Regions from separate parts of the Homo sapiens genome. Here all the other regions are linked to region 1. The links are contacts of gene promoters, found by promoter capture Hi-C in blood cells and fetal thymus (Javierre and others, 2016). All regions are on one chromosome and are shown on one strand. Each heading gives the region's core, a stretch centred on a gene start or on the middle of the fragment in contact. The rest is flanking DNA. Distances are from core to core; before and after follow the strand shown.

Evidence for each region. Contacts are between HindIII fragments. The CHiCAGO score rates a contact against its expected background, and 5 or more counts as called.
Region 2: a fragment that was not itself captured here is called in contact with the fragment with the promoter of CLNK in region 1 in 1 of 17 cell types (naive B cells); the score reaches 5.8 in naive B cells.
Region 3: a fragment that was not itself captured here is called in contact with the fragment with the promoter of CLNK in region 1 in 2 of 17 cell types (total B cells and naive B cells); the score reaches 11.2 in total B cells.
Region 4: a fragment that was not itself captured here is called in contact with the fragment with the promoter of CLNK in region 1 in 2 of 17 cell types (total B cells and naive B cells); the score reaches 9.9 in total B cells.
Region 5: a fragment that was not itself captured here is called in contact with the fragment with the promoter of CLNK in region 1 in 1 of 17 cell types (total B cells); the score reaches 5.7 in total B cells.

The regions. Positions count from the first base shown.
Region 1 is chr4:10,683,355-10,686,150 of GRCh38, reverse strand. CLNK (cytokine dependent hematopoietic cell linker) reads left to right here and starts at 1,383. Exons shown (of 19, transcript NM_052964.4): 1 at 1,383-1,483. The HindIII fragment of the contact is 1,243 bases long and covers 1,217-2,459 here.
Region 2 is chr4:11,488,732-11,491,527 of GRCh38, reverse strand. No RefSeq gene overlaps it. Among named protein-coding and RNA genes, the nearest start is that of HS3ST1, 61 kb to the right of the region's middle. The HindIII fragment of the contact is 3,384 bases long and covers 1-2,796 here.
Region 3 is chr4:11,467,777-11,470,572 of GRCh38, reverse strand. No RefSeq gene overlaps it. Among named protein-coding and RNA genes, the nearest start is that of HS3ST1, 40 kb to the right of the region's middle. RefSeq lists an enhancer at 202-391. The HindIII fragment of the contact is 739 bases long and covers 1,017-1,755 here.
Region 4 is chr4:11,404,852-11,407,647 of GRCh38, reverse strand. The region is part of intron 1 of HS3ST1 (heparan sulfate-glucosamine 3-sulfotransferase 1); the gene reads left to right. Among named protein-coding and RNA genes, the nearest start is that of HS3ST1, 23 kb to the left of the region's middle. The HindIII fragment of the contact is 1,920 bases long and covers 398-2,317 here.
Region 5 is chr4:11,387,509-11,390,304 of GRCh38, reverse strand. No RefSeq gene overlaps it. Among named protein-coding and RNA genes, the nearest start is that of MIR572, 20 kb to the right of the region's middle. The HindIII fragment of the contact is 2,677 bases long and covers 116-2,792 here.

The sequences.
Region 1 (2,796 bases), core at 134-2,633:
AAGCCGGGGATAAAGGCCTGGAACAGATCTTCTCCTCATGGCTCTCAGGAGGATCCAACCTTGCCGACTCCTTGATCTCAGACTTCCAGAGGCCAGACTGTGAGACAATACAATTTGACCTTCTGTTTTGTTAGCCACTCAGGGCTCAGTCCTTTGTTATGAAAACCCCAGAAAATTAATATGGGTCCAGACCAAAAGAAGTGAGCAAGTGACACACACAATTATGAACTAAATAAAGTGGTTACTGCTTTAAGCCCCTAATGCAGCAAAAGCTAATTAATAAAGTGGTTAAACTACTCGAGTCTCCCTAGTCTTCAGTTTTCACAATTACAAAATGGGATTTTACATATGTTCCTTACATGGTTATTAGTAAGATTAAGGAGGATAATGCTTGCAAGTTGCTTAGCAATGTAACTGACTCACAATTAGCATTCAAAGAGTGCTTATTTTCATGTTTTCCTTGGGGTGTCTGTTAAGTCAAAACCAGAGTTATTTACCCAAGAAAATATAAACTTCTACCTTTGAATTTATTGTAAATAATGTTGGAGTTTGTTATGGAATTCAACATCAATTTATATAAAACTAGAATGTCAAGTCTCCAGAAGAGGAAACAGGCACTCGGCAAGATCAGCTTAAATGGACCAAGATTAAGGCCGAAAGAAAATGTATTAAGCAACTGATATGTGCCCAAACATTACTGCATGCCTTTATTTACAATATTTTGTTTATTTATTGAAATACTTCTAAAATATAAATATTATCCTTCCATCACAATTGAGGAAATATCATTTCCTCAATGAAGGAAATATAATCCTCAATTATCCCTCATTTTTTAAAAAAGTTTCTAAAATACAAATATTATTATCACTCAAACTACTTGAGAAATAAACTTCAAAGTGCCCAAGATCCTATAGCTAATAATTAATACAGCAAGAATAAGAGGCAGGCATTTCTCCTTTAGTTCCCAGGTTCTTTCCTTAACACCTGGTCCATGTGTCTGGGATGGTCTCAGGAAGCCATTGCAAAATTAAGCCAAAAGATGATAGTTAATGTCCACTATTCATATAAAGTGAGACTCGCAAAACCCACCTTCCATGCTTGAGTGTTGCCCAGCAGTTCCTTTTATTGTGTTCTGGTAACTATGAAGTGCCACATAAGGACACCGTGTGTCTTTAAAAACACCCTTTGCATTGGAAGATTTCAGCCTCTGAAAGCTTCACGTATTGCACTCCAGCCTAAGAAGAGGAAGTCCTGCCAGCCCTCAGGTCAGACCTCTCAGGTCTGTGGCTGCATTTCACAGGAAACCAAGTCTAAAACGGACCTATCAGGAGGTTTTCTGCTGAAGGGCACTGCTTAGCATCGAGAAGAATTCAACCCACCGCCTTACTAATTTCCAGTGCCCCAAGGTCTCTGCACTGCCGCCCCTCCTCACAGGAGACGGACACCTCAGCCTAGATCCCTTGGTGCTCTCCACGCTGTTCAGGTAAACTCATTAGGCCAGTTCTTCTGAGTGAGGATCTCATGGTCATCTCCTTGTCATAAATGATCATCAGGAAAGACCTGAGCAGCAAGTAAAAATGTGTTTCTAAAGTGGAAGTCTGGGCCTTATATATAGCATCAAAGGAGCAAGAAGAAAGCCCTTAACTCAATTGTTAAAGATCCTTTCATTCTTTTGGGAGAAAGAATCAGGATACCTACCCACAGAAAATTAAAAGACTAAATGTTTTCAATCTTCTTTTCCTGGAGCTTGGACTCCCCGACTGTTTGCAACTGAAATCTAAAGACCAGGCCCCATGGCTGGCTTTCCTGGCTGACCTTCATTAAGTAAGCCCTCTAGAAAGAAAGCCTCCATTCAAAGTAGGTCATTCAAAGTATAAGTTAACTCCTGGAGCCCTGTGGAAATATATTTTTAACATTTTCTAAAGTAATACGATTTTCTTTCTGCTTTGGTGTAGAGGAGACTTAGACTTTGGAATCACGCAGACATCCTTCCACTCACAAGAGTAAGGAGCTCAAAAGTGAGGTTAAAGTTGGGGTTAAATTCTTACTCTTGAAAAGTGCCGGGAGTCATCTCTACCAGGCTTTTATTGGATAAAGCAAACAAACTGGAATGAGACAGAAAAGAAAATAACTATCATCAAAATATGGATACTTTGATTTTAAAAGGTGTCGATATGCCTGAACTTTTTATCAATACTGTTTTTATTACTTTACACCAGTGTTACTCATTTGGCTTCTCTGTTATGAGTATTACTTGTCTATTACCTACATGGCTATTTCTCTGGCTGTCTCTGTCTATACTGTGGCGCAGCTCCTCAATAGTGTTGTTCTTTGGATTTCCAGGGGCCTCCCAAACCACCAGGAATAATCATTTCAAATATCAAGAAGACGATGGTAGAGCTGGTTAATTGAAGGCCTACCAGAGAAATGACAGCGCTTCAGAAATCCTCTAAGAAGCTTAAGATACAGTATGCCCTAGAGAAGTAGGAATGGCAACTGGCATTTACTTACCTTCAGCTCCTGCTGACCTAGAGAGCTGGCTATTACTTTCCCTGGTTTACAGGTGAAGAACTTGAGTTCTCTAAGTAATATGTGCAAGGTTGTTCAGTCACTAATGTCAGTAACAGAATTCAGAAGGAAACTGATTTTCCTGGCTGACTGATTGGAATGGTGAACAGTGTTAGTTTGCAGTTTCACAGAGCTCATCCCTAAACTCACTCCTGGGTGGTCTCTGACACCAACCATCTAAATGGTAGTATTTCTTTGTTATTCCCAACAAGCCCTCTCAGATGACTG
Region 2 (2,796 bases), core at 175-2,674, 810 kb before region 1:
CACAAAAATTAGCTGGGCATGGTGGTGGATGCCTGTAATCCCAGCTACTTGGGAGGCTGACACAGAAGAATTGCTTGAACCTGGGAGGTGGAGGTTGCCGTGAGCTGAGATGGCACCACTGCACTTCAGCCTGGGTGACAAGGAAAGACCCCAAGTCAAAAAAAAAAAAAAAAAAAAATAGAACACTAATGATAAAACAAAGAACCTACAGTCTTATGGAGAGGTTAGGGTATCTTCAAATACATCAGGAACACTGGATGCCAGAAAACAACAGAGAAAGGATTTCCAAGATGTAAGGGACAAACAGTTTCCAACCCAGAATTTTATACACAGCCAAATTGTCAGGGAAGATAAGAATGAAGTTTATTTCTCACATACACTCTTAGGAAGTTCCTTGAGAATGTACTCCAGCATACACGAAAATAAAAAAAAAAAGATGACATGACCACCAGAAAGTGGTGAGATCAATACAGGGCAGTAGAAACAGGAAGTCTAGAGAATGTTGTTAATGAAGCCATTTTACAGGGCAAATAATCTGTATTGGGTTAAAAGAATGAAAAGAATGATCACCCCCTAAAAAGGGATAAATCAGAACAGATAGTAAGGTTGGAAATGTAGAAACAAGAGGCATAAGTAGGCTGGGCGCAGTGGCTCTGGCCTGTAAACCCAGCACTTTGGGAGGCTGAGGCAGGAGGATCACTTGAGGTCAGGAGTTTGAGACCAGCCTGGCCAAGACGGCAAAACACCATCTCTAATAAAAATAGACACACACACACACACACACACACACACACACACACACACAAAAATAGCCAGGCGTGATGGTGAGCAGCTGTAATCCCAACAACCCAGGAGGCTGAGGTACAAGAATTGTCTCAACCCTGGGAGACAGAGGTTGCAGTGAGCCGAGATTGCGCCACTGCCCTCCAGCCTGGGTGACAGAGCAAGACTCTCTCAAAAAAAAAAAGAAAAAAGAAGAAGAAGAAGATGAGGAGGAATAAGATGAAAGCACAATTTGCAAAAAAATTTAAGAAGAGAAAAGAAAACCTTCCAGGGAAACAAAACTGTATAAGAAAACTGTGATTCATATTTGAAGCCATCATGAAACATTGGAAGAGAAACTCAGCAGGCTTCGGGAAGGACATTCCAGTGGGTTTCAAGCACACCTTCACATCTATATCTGTGCATAATGTCGGGGGACAGGGCAGGATCTAAACACAGAACGATGCTGATGTCACTACATGCAAATCACACAGATTCGCTGAGAAAACTCACTGAAGTTGAAAATGAAACAGCAGAATTATATATTTGTGAAAAAAAATCAAATTTGAGAATTTGGTGTAAAGAATTGATCGGATGTGTAAGAGTTAATGTTTTCCTTTTATTATCAAAATGTAAACCTGGCACATAAAATTAACAAGTAATTGTGTGGAATTAAAACAGATTTGTTGGATATGATATAAACTCTAAGCATAAACATTTACCTGTTTCCCCACTATCTTCATCATTCAAGTGAAATTGTTAGCAGGAAGATATGCCAAGTTTATCCCTGGGACTGAGCTATCAGGCTCCCCAACCCTCCCTACCTCTTTATACAACACTGTACCTCCTGGTGTTACAGAGTTTGAGATGAGTGTCTTAACAGGATCTTCATTTACTGATATTACTCACTGCCAGCTGGCTCTGATTCTGTGAATACATATGTTCTTCTTAAAAAATCGCTAGCTGGGCTTCAAGGTATTATGTTGTCCTACCAGAATAAATATTATTTTAAGATCAGACGAAGGTTCTTGTTCTTTATTAAATTCCTTATTAAATATTTAGTGTTCATAAATTTGTTTAATATAGTTGCTGCCTCAGCATTCATTTTTAGGCCTGATGTAATTTATTTGAAACCCAGGCACGCCATGTCACCTCTGACCTAGTTATAATTTCCCCTCTCCTATGTGACTCTGATAGATTCTGCTTGTTCCTCATCCCAGTGATGCAAAACTCAGCATATCCACAGCTGCTGACTATGAGCAATCTAATGATGAACCTCAGAATCATGTAAATAAGTTCCTCCTTTCACATATATTCTCTTCAATTAGCCAGTCCACAACCCCGTTGGAAAAGCCTAAGGGATAACGCCAATAGACCTTAATGGGGGCATAGTCCCACAGGTTGGGTCCTGTGCTGGCCCCTGCTGGTTGAGCTTCTCACCTTCTCTGGACTTTCCATCAGCAGCCCATCAGCACCCGTAACCTCTCTGGGACATGTACAAAATATATATTTTTTCTATTTCACGCATTTTGGTTTCATTTTCTCATTGTATCTCACCTGAAACACACACTCAAACCTAACATTTCCCCTATCATGACTCTCCGAGAGAGTTGTTATCTTGACTTAGGATCACTCTCAAGAGAGAGCCCTCAAGACCAAACACCAAAATATCATTACAACACTATTCTATTGGAAAGTAAAATTCTGATTGAGTTAAGTAGTCTTGCTGGTCTATGGTACCTTTCACATACATCTGGATCAAATACATTATGTCCCTCAATCCACTTGAATAGTATGTATCCAAATATTCATCTCAGGTAAGAAAAATGGAGGTGAAATGTGCTTAAAGTTCCCCAGTTCACTTATACAGTGGTGCATTAGTCATGCAGCAATGCCTTATCAAGCATCTAACATGTGTTAGTCACAGTGCTACATAATGGAGATACAGTGAACAGGTCATTATGTGATCAGATTTTGTTGATGAAAACTCATAGTTGGCTGCAAGATGAACACAGTAGAGGGTCAAATGGCAGA
Region 3 (2,796 bases), core at 137-2,636, 780 kb before region 1:
GCCCTTTACCTTCAAAGATTAAAATCAGCATAGCAACAAAACATGAGGCTCTTGGTTTTACTCAGTGCTTTTCTTACATGGTCTCATTGCATTCACAGAGCAGTGTTACAGAAGGTTAGAGACCCTTGGAGATAAAACATGTAGGGATTTCCACTCTTTTTGGTGATGCCCCAAGAACCTGGGAAGGAGTGTCAGAGTCTGCCCTCTGGGGATGGGGGCTCCCTCCAGGGGCGGGAAGCCCATCTGGCTCATCTCTCTGCCCTTGGCTCAGCTGACCATGCAACTGCAGCTGCTTGCTTGGGCTTGTTTCATGCATGACAGTTTCAGTTACCTTTCACTTGAGAAATAGATCTCCCTGCTAAAAGAAAAAAAAAAAAAGAAAGAAAGAAAATGTTTGAAGACTACTGATCAGTTTCAATACCTTCATACTGTCCATAAAAACACACAGGCCCGTGTTGCACTGGCCGTCCCTTCGCATCTCACTCTCAGCGCCTCAGTGAGCTTTCTCAGCTGTGCTACGACAATGAGCATTTGCAGACCTCTTTTCCATCTTTCAAATTGTTGGCATCTCTCAACTATTCACATTGGTGGATTAATATGTTAAATACCTTTCATTGTTATTCTAGTGGAGTTTAAGGAGGAAGCAGCAATAGAATATGTATATGTATATACATATACATATACATATACATATACATACATATACACGCACACAGAAAGAGACAGAGAGGAGGGTTTTACCTTAGTCAGGGACTCCTCTCATTGCCTGAAATATTCTTCAGAGACTTGGAGCTCCAAGGTCTTGAGGAAGGCACCACAGTGAGTGGTGGAGTCGAAAACTGGAGGATTTGGTTGAATATTTCTATCAGTAGCACCTGGACTCTTTCCTTTCCCCTGCCAACCAAACATCCAAGCACCTGTCCTTTCTACTATGTCAAGAAAAGGGATTTTGTTTTGTGGAGACTTGAAACAGGAATTCTCTACCCTACTTAGAAAGAATAAGATTAAGTAAAGCTTCAATATCCCAAGGGAAATAAAGAAGCTATTGAAAATAAAAAAATAGAACAAAATACCATTAAAAGCATAATTAGAGAAGAGCATTAACACTTCTCTCCTTAAGGAAACATTGTTAACTGTTTTATAATTTGTATACCTTTTTTCCCAACAAAAAGTGTGCAATTGTTGTTAATAATAAAAGACTTTTGGTCATGATAATTAAAAAACAAAAAAGTAAAACAAACAAAAAAACCACAGGCCCAGAAAGGGACAATCACTTGCCTAAAATCACAGATCCACTTAGTACTTAAAGGCAAAGAAGGAACTAAGTGTTAGTCTTGGGTATCACATCAGTTTCTACTCCAGGACATGCAATTGCGGTACCTGGCTCAGGTGACCACAGTGAATGTAAATACCCAATGATTGGCCCAAGAGGAAAGGAAAACAATTTAAAAAATTCCTGACAGCTGCATTTCTGGAATGTCCCCACTCCTTCCTCATGCACCTGTTGCTGCCTGAACTTCTGACACTGAGTGGTTACCGGAGGCCTGGCGTCTCCTTAGAGCACTGCCACTGGCGCTGATGAACCAACTGAGGCAGACACTTTTACCTCCCTGAGCCTCACTTTTCTCCACCAGAAACTGGTTTAGGGGACAATAGCTTAGTACTGTCTCTTCTGGCTTCTATGTTCTTCTGGTTAAGAAAAAACTAACAACATTTCCCCCTGTCCTGACTTCCCAAAAGATTGAACATGAAGCTTCACTGAAATCCTGGATGGAAACATATTATTTCCAATGTAAAATGATAAAGCCTGGTCATGTGCAAGTTGCTCCCAGCTGCTGTGCCAGGGAGAGAGGGGAGGCATGCAATCAGCTTCCAGATAAAGGAGACAAGCTGTAGTGCTCAGGGCCCAACTGAGGAACATGTAAAGAGGGATTATATATATAATAAGTATCTACCTCTCTCTATATAAAGATATATATACATATATACATATATATATATATACGTATATATATATATATACATATATATATACGTATATATATATATATATATATATACGTATATATATATATACATATATATATATACGTATATATATATATATATATAGAGAGAGAGAGAGAGAGAGAGAGAGAGAGAGAGAGAAAGCATTGTTCTCTCTATAGAAAAGAAAGATTTTTCTGTAGAAGATAGATAGTTATCCCCTGAGAACCAGGAAAGCTGATGATACAATTCACAGAAGTCAAAAAAGTCCCCAGGCTGCATGAAGTTCCTTTGAAAAGGCAGGGTTGGCTTTCCCTGGTCTATGTAAGCCCCTTCCTGTAGGTAATGGCAGGTCCGGAGACACACCCCTGGAGGCTCTCTGAGTGCCACCTGGCAGTGCTGGCACAAGTGGGGGAAGCCAGGGAGTTGGTGAGGTGGGGTGCGGGGATGGCAGCTGGCTCAGCAGCTCCAAGAGTGCTATAGGGTCTCAGTTCTGAAATTATTCACAAGTACTCAGCAGACTCAGTGCACTTTAAAAGTCACTTTTTTTTTTCTCTCACAGAGAAAAAGGATGTTGTCTTATGGCTTCCTCACCTGTGACTTCTTGGAATTTTTTTTTTTTTTTTTGGAGATGGAGTCTTGCTCTGTTGCCCAGGCTGGATCCCGGCTCACTGAAACCTCTGCCTCCTGGGTTTAAGCAATTATCCTGCCTCAGCCTCCCAAGTACCTGGGATTGCAGGCATACACTACCACACCCAGCTAATTTTTGTATTTTTTTAGTAGAGACGGGGTTTCACCATGTTGGCCAGG
Region 4 (2,796 bases), core at 108-2,607, 720 kb before region 1:
TTGGGCCATAATCCTTCACCTGATCTGGACAATAATGTTGTGTGGGTTGACTTCAGACCACCTATGGGACAGGTTGCATTTATCATTCTCATTTTATCAAGGAGCACTTAGAGGCTCACAAATAACACCAAGATGGGAATCCTTATCCCAGTGACTACACCAAGCTGCCTCCCTTGGCTTGCCAAAGCATCTCCTTCCTTCAATTTCAGAGAATTCAATTTATTATCCAGTTAAACGTTTGTAAATATGGCACCTCTCAGACATGCAGAGGATTCAAGGAAGCACAGAAGGCTAGAGGAGGAGATATTCGAATAGTCCTCCTCTTTTTCAAGGAAAAAGTGGGGCCAATTACTGTAACTTATCCCCCACTGCATAGTAAATGTGGTCCAAGGAAGCTTATTAACATTATGTGGCCTGACTTACGGTCCTTTCTACCCTAAACTCTTTTCACCCCATCCCACCTCACAGCAATTACCATAAGGAAATCCAAACAAAAGTGAATGTCAACATTTGTTGAAGATTGACATGTATAGGCAATTTCAAGAAAATAAATATTTATGTAGGTCTTGAAATATCACTGTCCTCTCATAGGCTGACAGGCACAAACTAAACGTATTTCCAATTTCATTGTTTCTAAAATGACCTGCCAAGGATGAAAATCTGACACCACTGTGAGGTGCTCTTCCATAGCTATGCAAAGATGAAAGTGAAGACATGTTTCGTTCTTAACAATGAAAAAATAATCTTATACTTTTGATTGCCCAGAAGTTTGGTAGATTAAAAAAAAAAAAGACAGTTTTGTTGTTCAACCTGTGTTTCTCATGTTTCAGTACGTTCCAGAAAATTAAATCACTCAACACCATGGGATTCTTGGAAAGAAGCAGTTCTCGCATAACAGTATAATAAATCTCACACTTCTATCTCATTGTGGTTTTAAGTAAGCTCTCCCTTGCCTGGAATGCACTCCCCACTGCCCAAGGGGAAGCATCACCATTCAAAGGGGACAAAAGCACACCGTGGGCTTTGAGGATGGCCAGTGGAATATTTTAGTTTTGATATTTCCTGGTTCTGTGACCTTGAGGAGGTCATTTAACCTTAACAGCATGTATCCATTTCTGTCATGGCAGATATGAATATGAAAGGCAGGCCATTAACATTTGTTGAATAACTGTGTGCCAGACACTGTGCCGTGTATTTGGCATGGGTCATCTTATTTAATTATGATGACACCCCTATCAAGTAGATTTAAGCTCATATTTGCAGAGGGGAATGTGGAGACCCAGAGAGGTTAGACATTTACTGAGGTCAGTTAGCAGTAAGAATTCTAGCTTGGATTTACCTGATTGCAAAAGATTCTTTGCTCATCTACTACTCCCCACCACCTTTTTATTGCTTAAAAATATAAAATAAAATGAGAACAACCACCTCTTGTATTGTTGCAAGTATTAGAAGAAATAATTTATACCCAAGTGCTTACCACCTGGCACCCAGTGAGTGCTCAGCAGGTAATCTCTTTCCTTCTAACCCTTTTGTTAAATCCCATAAGTGAATTGTGGTTGTATGCTTTGATCATCCCTGCTACCCTAGAGGAGATTCCTGCCTGTGACAGTGTGTCACCATCTCTCATTGAGGGGCTGTGAAGGTGTCCTGCAGACAGACAGATGGCAGGCATCGCTGTTCCAGATTCATTAAATGTACCTCTTGTGAAATATCCTAGTTATTTCATTTCATCTATGAATATGTTCCAGTAGTGGGACTGAGAGAATATATTACAGTTAATTACATTTGAAATCTAGGTCATGATGTGAATTATGTAATAAGGAGACATAAGGAGAAAATGAAAATATTTTTGAAGGGTTATTTCATTGCTTCCCCTCTTTTTTAATCCAAATATTTTCTAGGCTCTCAGGTGATGTCGCCCAATCACGATTAGAAATGCTGAGTCCCCCTTTCAACATCTGGTTTCTGCTTGACTCTCTAGAGACAGAAGTTTCAAACCCTTAAAGTTTCTCTTCCTACTGTGTTAAAATATGTTCCCAGTACCTTCCAGCTATTTGCCTGTCTACTGCATTTGACAAGTTCATTCAGCAAACAAAATGTCTAGTATGTGCTATATACCAGAAATCATGCCAGGCCCGAGGGGACAGAGTAGAGCAAGGCAAGACCTCCATTTGCAGGAAAGGCCTCCTTGGAAAGGAGTTTAGATTTAATTCCAAGTGCAAGGGAAGCCTCCATCTGGAAGATTCTGTGGAATCTCCCTTGGGTTTCCCATGCCTGGCATGTGGCTACTGTCTTCACAGTGGGACTCGAGGAAGCTTACTGTTGCTGATAGGAAGGACCTTAATCTTTTCAATTCATGAAACTCAGGCCTTGGGTTTTCACCATAACACCCAGAAAACAGCCTCCCTGATAAAGGGAAGTAAATGGAGGGGTAGCTGGGTCTCCCTTTGGGACCTATTAACCCATCGGAGGTTCATTTTGCCCATCTTAGCAAGTCTGGGCCTTCACAGAAATTCTGTCCTTCATCAAAGAATTGGTGCAAGGCACAACTATTCAACAGGACCAAAGAAGTAGAGCCAAGTTCATTAATAACTTGCTCACTAACTCCAGACATTGCCAAGAAAAGTGAAAGTGACAGTGAAGTTCCTGGCTTTGTTTAGACTGAGTTTGAATCCTTTCACCTCCTCTAACTTTCTAGACACAAGACTTCATTTCTCTGAACCTCACTTTTTAAAATAAAAACATCACTTACCTTGAGGACTTGCAGTGAGGATTACAGCAAGCCCTGTGTGGAAA
Region 5 (2,796 bases), core at 205-2,704, 700 kb before region 1:
CTCTGTTGAGACTAGCTTCCATACCTGGTTGTTCCTTGACAATGAAATCGACAGAACAAGTGCTTAATGGTTATGTGGTCATACTTAAAAAGGGAGATTAATGTAAGTGTAAGCTTTCAGGATATTAGTGTTCATTATACAAATGTAAGTTATCATTATTATAAGTCCTTGGGCTTGCTATGTAATTTCAACTATTTTGACCTAAGGAATGTGGCCAGTTCACTCCTCTTTTGATCCCATGTGATGGTGATTAAGTGATTTTGCATAAATCAATTTATTCTACAAGTAGAATCCAGGCGTGCACACTATGTTGCTTCCTCTGAATGTTTTTATGGCTCAACCAAACCATGTGAAGAAAAGATACACTTAGAACAAATTACAGGCTGGAGTCAGCTTGGAAAACTTTGTGTTATATGAAAGCACAAACCCTGACAGACCTGCAAAACCTCTTAGACAATTCATCAGACATAAAAGACTATTGCTGAGACATTTAACACTGGATATTAAAAGCTGTTCGCAGCACTCAAAAGACAATATATGGCAGACTCTATTTCTACTTTCTTTAATTTGGAAGTTCTATCTTTAGTAGCAATTTACATTTTCCACACAATTAAAGACTGTACCTATTTCTGATATGCACTTCAAGTATCCAATTCGTCTGTGATTTACATTTTCTTCTCTGTTTATCTGTTTATTTCCCTCTCAGTTAGAAAACGAGGTTTTAAATTTTGGCATCATCACTTAAAATCTGGGTAATGCTGGGCAAATTTGATTAACCATTCAAGAGGGTCAGTTGGCTGATATGTTAAATGGGAGTATGATTTTGTTTCAGGAATTGTTGTGGCTCTTGAAGGCTATGAGCATAGCCAGGCATGCAGTAGATATTCAACACATACATATTCATTGATCTTTTAATACACTTTTTGTTGGTGGATTCAAAGGGTCTGTAAATAGGAATTCACTTGTGACAATGGAACAGCCCTTCAGATATCATTGTACCATCATGAATGTCAAGGCCAATACATCTAAAAATCAATGAAATTTTATTGTGCTTCTAATGGTAACCATTTACATAAGTCCAAGCCATGGGCAAATGTGATATAGTGGTATAGTAAGAACTATGTACAAATGCTCCTTGACTTACAATGGAGTTATATCCCAATAAATCTGATTTATTGAAATATCTTGATAAGTTGAAAATACTGTAAATCAAAAATGCATTTAATATGCTAATCTATTTAACATCATAGATAAGCCTAGCCTACCTTAAACATGCACAGAACACTTACATTAACTTAAAGTTGGGCAAAATAACCTACCACAAAGCCTATTTTAGAATGAAATGTTGAATATCTCATGTCATTTATTGAATATTGTACTGAAAGTGAAAAACAGAATGGTTGTATGAGTACCCACCACTAGCACATACAGCTGAAAGCACACTGGGCCTGAAATATGTTTGAAGAATTGAACTAAAATTAATTTTTGAATGATGGGGGTGCTACAGCCACAGGGTCATCAATTTCTCTCTCTTCCAGTGAGGCTTAAGAAGAGCCGATAGAAGGCACTGGAACACGGACACTTGTTTATGGGTCAGCAGCAATAGTGTTCTTCAGGACGATACCAAGTGTCAGTTTAGCCCAGTGAGCACGTGGCTGAATGGGAACTACTGCTCGCTGCCACTGCTCAGCCTTGCTAGAGAGTGTCTTACTGAATATCACTAGACCAGGAAGATATCAAAATTCAAAATTGGAAATATGGTTTCTACTGAATTTGTATTGCTTCTGCTACCATCACAAAGTCAGAAAATAGTAAGCCAAATCACTGTAAGCTGAGAACCATCCCTATGTTGGTCTTCACCTTGTTCTTGACATACAACTTCTAAAACTCTTGGAATTTCCTAAGGGATAAAAGCAATAAAGCACAGAAAGGAGCCTTTTGTTATTCACAACAGGCCGCTTTCCACCACACCTGAGTTAACATTGATGAGATGACTTTTTTTTTTTTTTTTTTTTTTTTTTTTTGAGACGGAGTCTCGCTCTGTCGCCCAGGCCGGACTGCGGACTGCAGTGGCGCAATCTCGGCTCACTGCAAGCTCCGCTTCCCGGGTTCACGCCATTCTCCTGCCTCAGCCTCCCGAGTAGCTGGGACTACAGGCGCCCGCCACCGCGCCCGGCTAATTTTTTGTATTTTTAGTAGAGACGGGGTTTCACCTTGTTAGCCAGGATGGTCTCGATCTCCTGACCTCATGATCCACCCGCCTCGGCCTCCCAAAGTGCTGGAATTACAGGCGTGAGCCACCGCGCCCGGCCGATGAGATGACTTTTGTAAAACTCCTGGATAACCACAGGATGGGAGGTGGTTGCCAGGGGAAACAACCACATGATTAAAAGGTCTGAGCTTTCAGCCCTAGCTGCCACACTCCCTCACTTCTGATCTCCCTGAAGGAAGCAGGTGAAGGGGGGCTGAAGATTGAGTTGATCACCGATGGTCAATGATTTAATCAGCCATACCTACTTAATGGTGTGACCATAAAAACCCAAACGGACAGAGTTCAGAGTTTCCAAGTTGATGAACATTTGAGGGTGCTGGGAGGATAGCAAGCCCAGAGAGGCCATGGACGCTCTGCACTCCTTCATTCTGCATCATCCCATGGCAGAAGGTGGAAGAGCAAGGGAGGGTGAGAGCAAGAGAGCAAAATATGCTGAACTCACTTTTAAAAGAAACCCACTCTTGTGACAGCTATTTCACTCCCTTGATAATGACATTAATCCATTCCTTCAGGCCAAGCTTTCA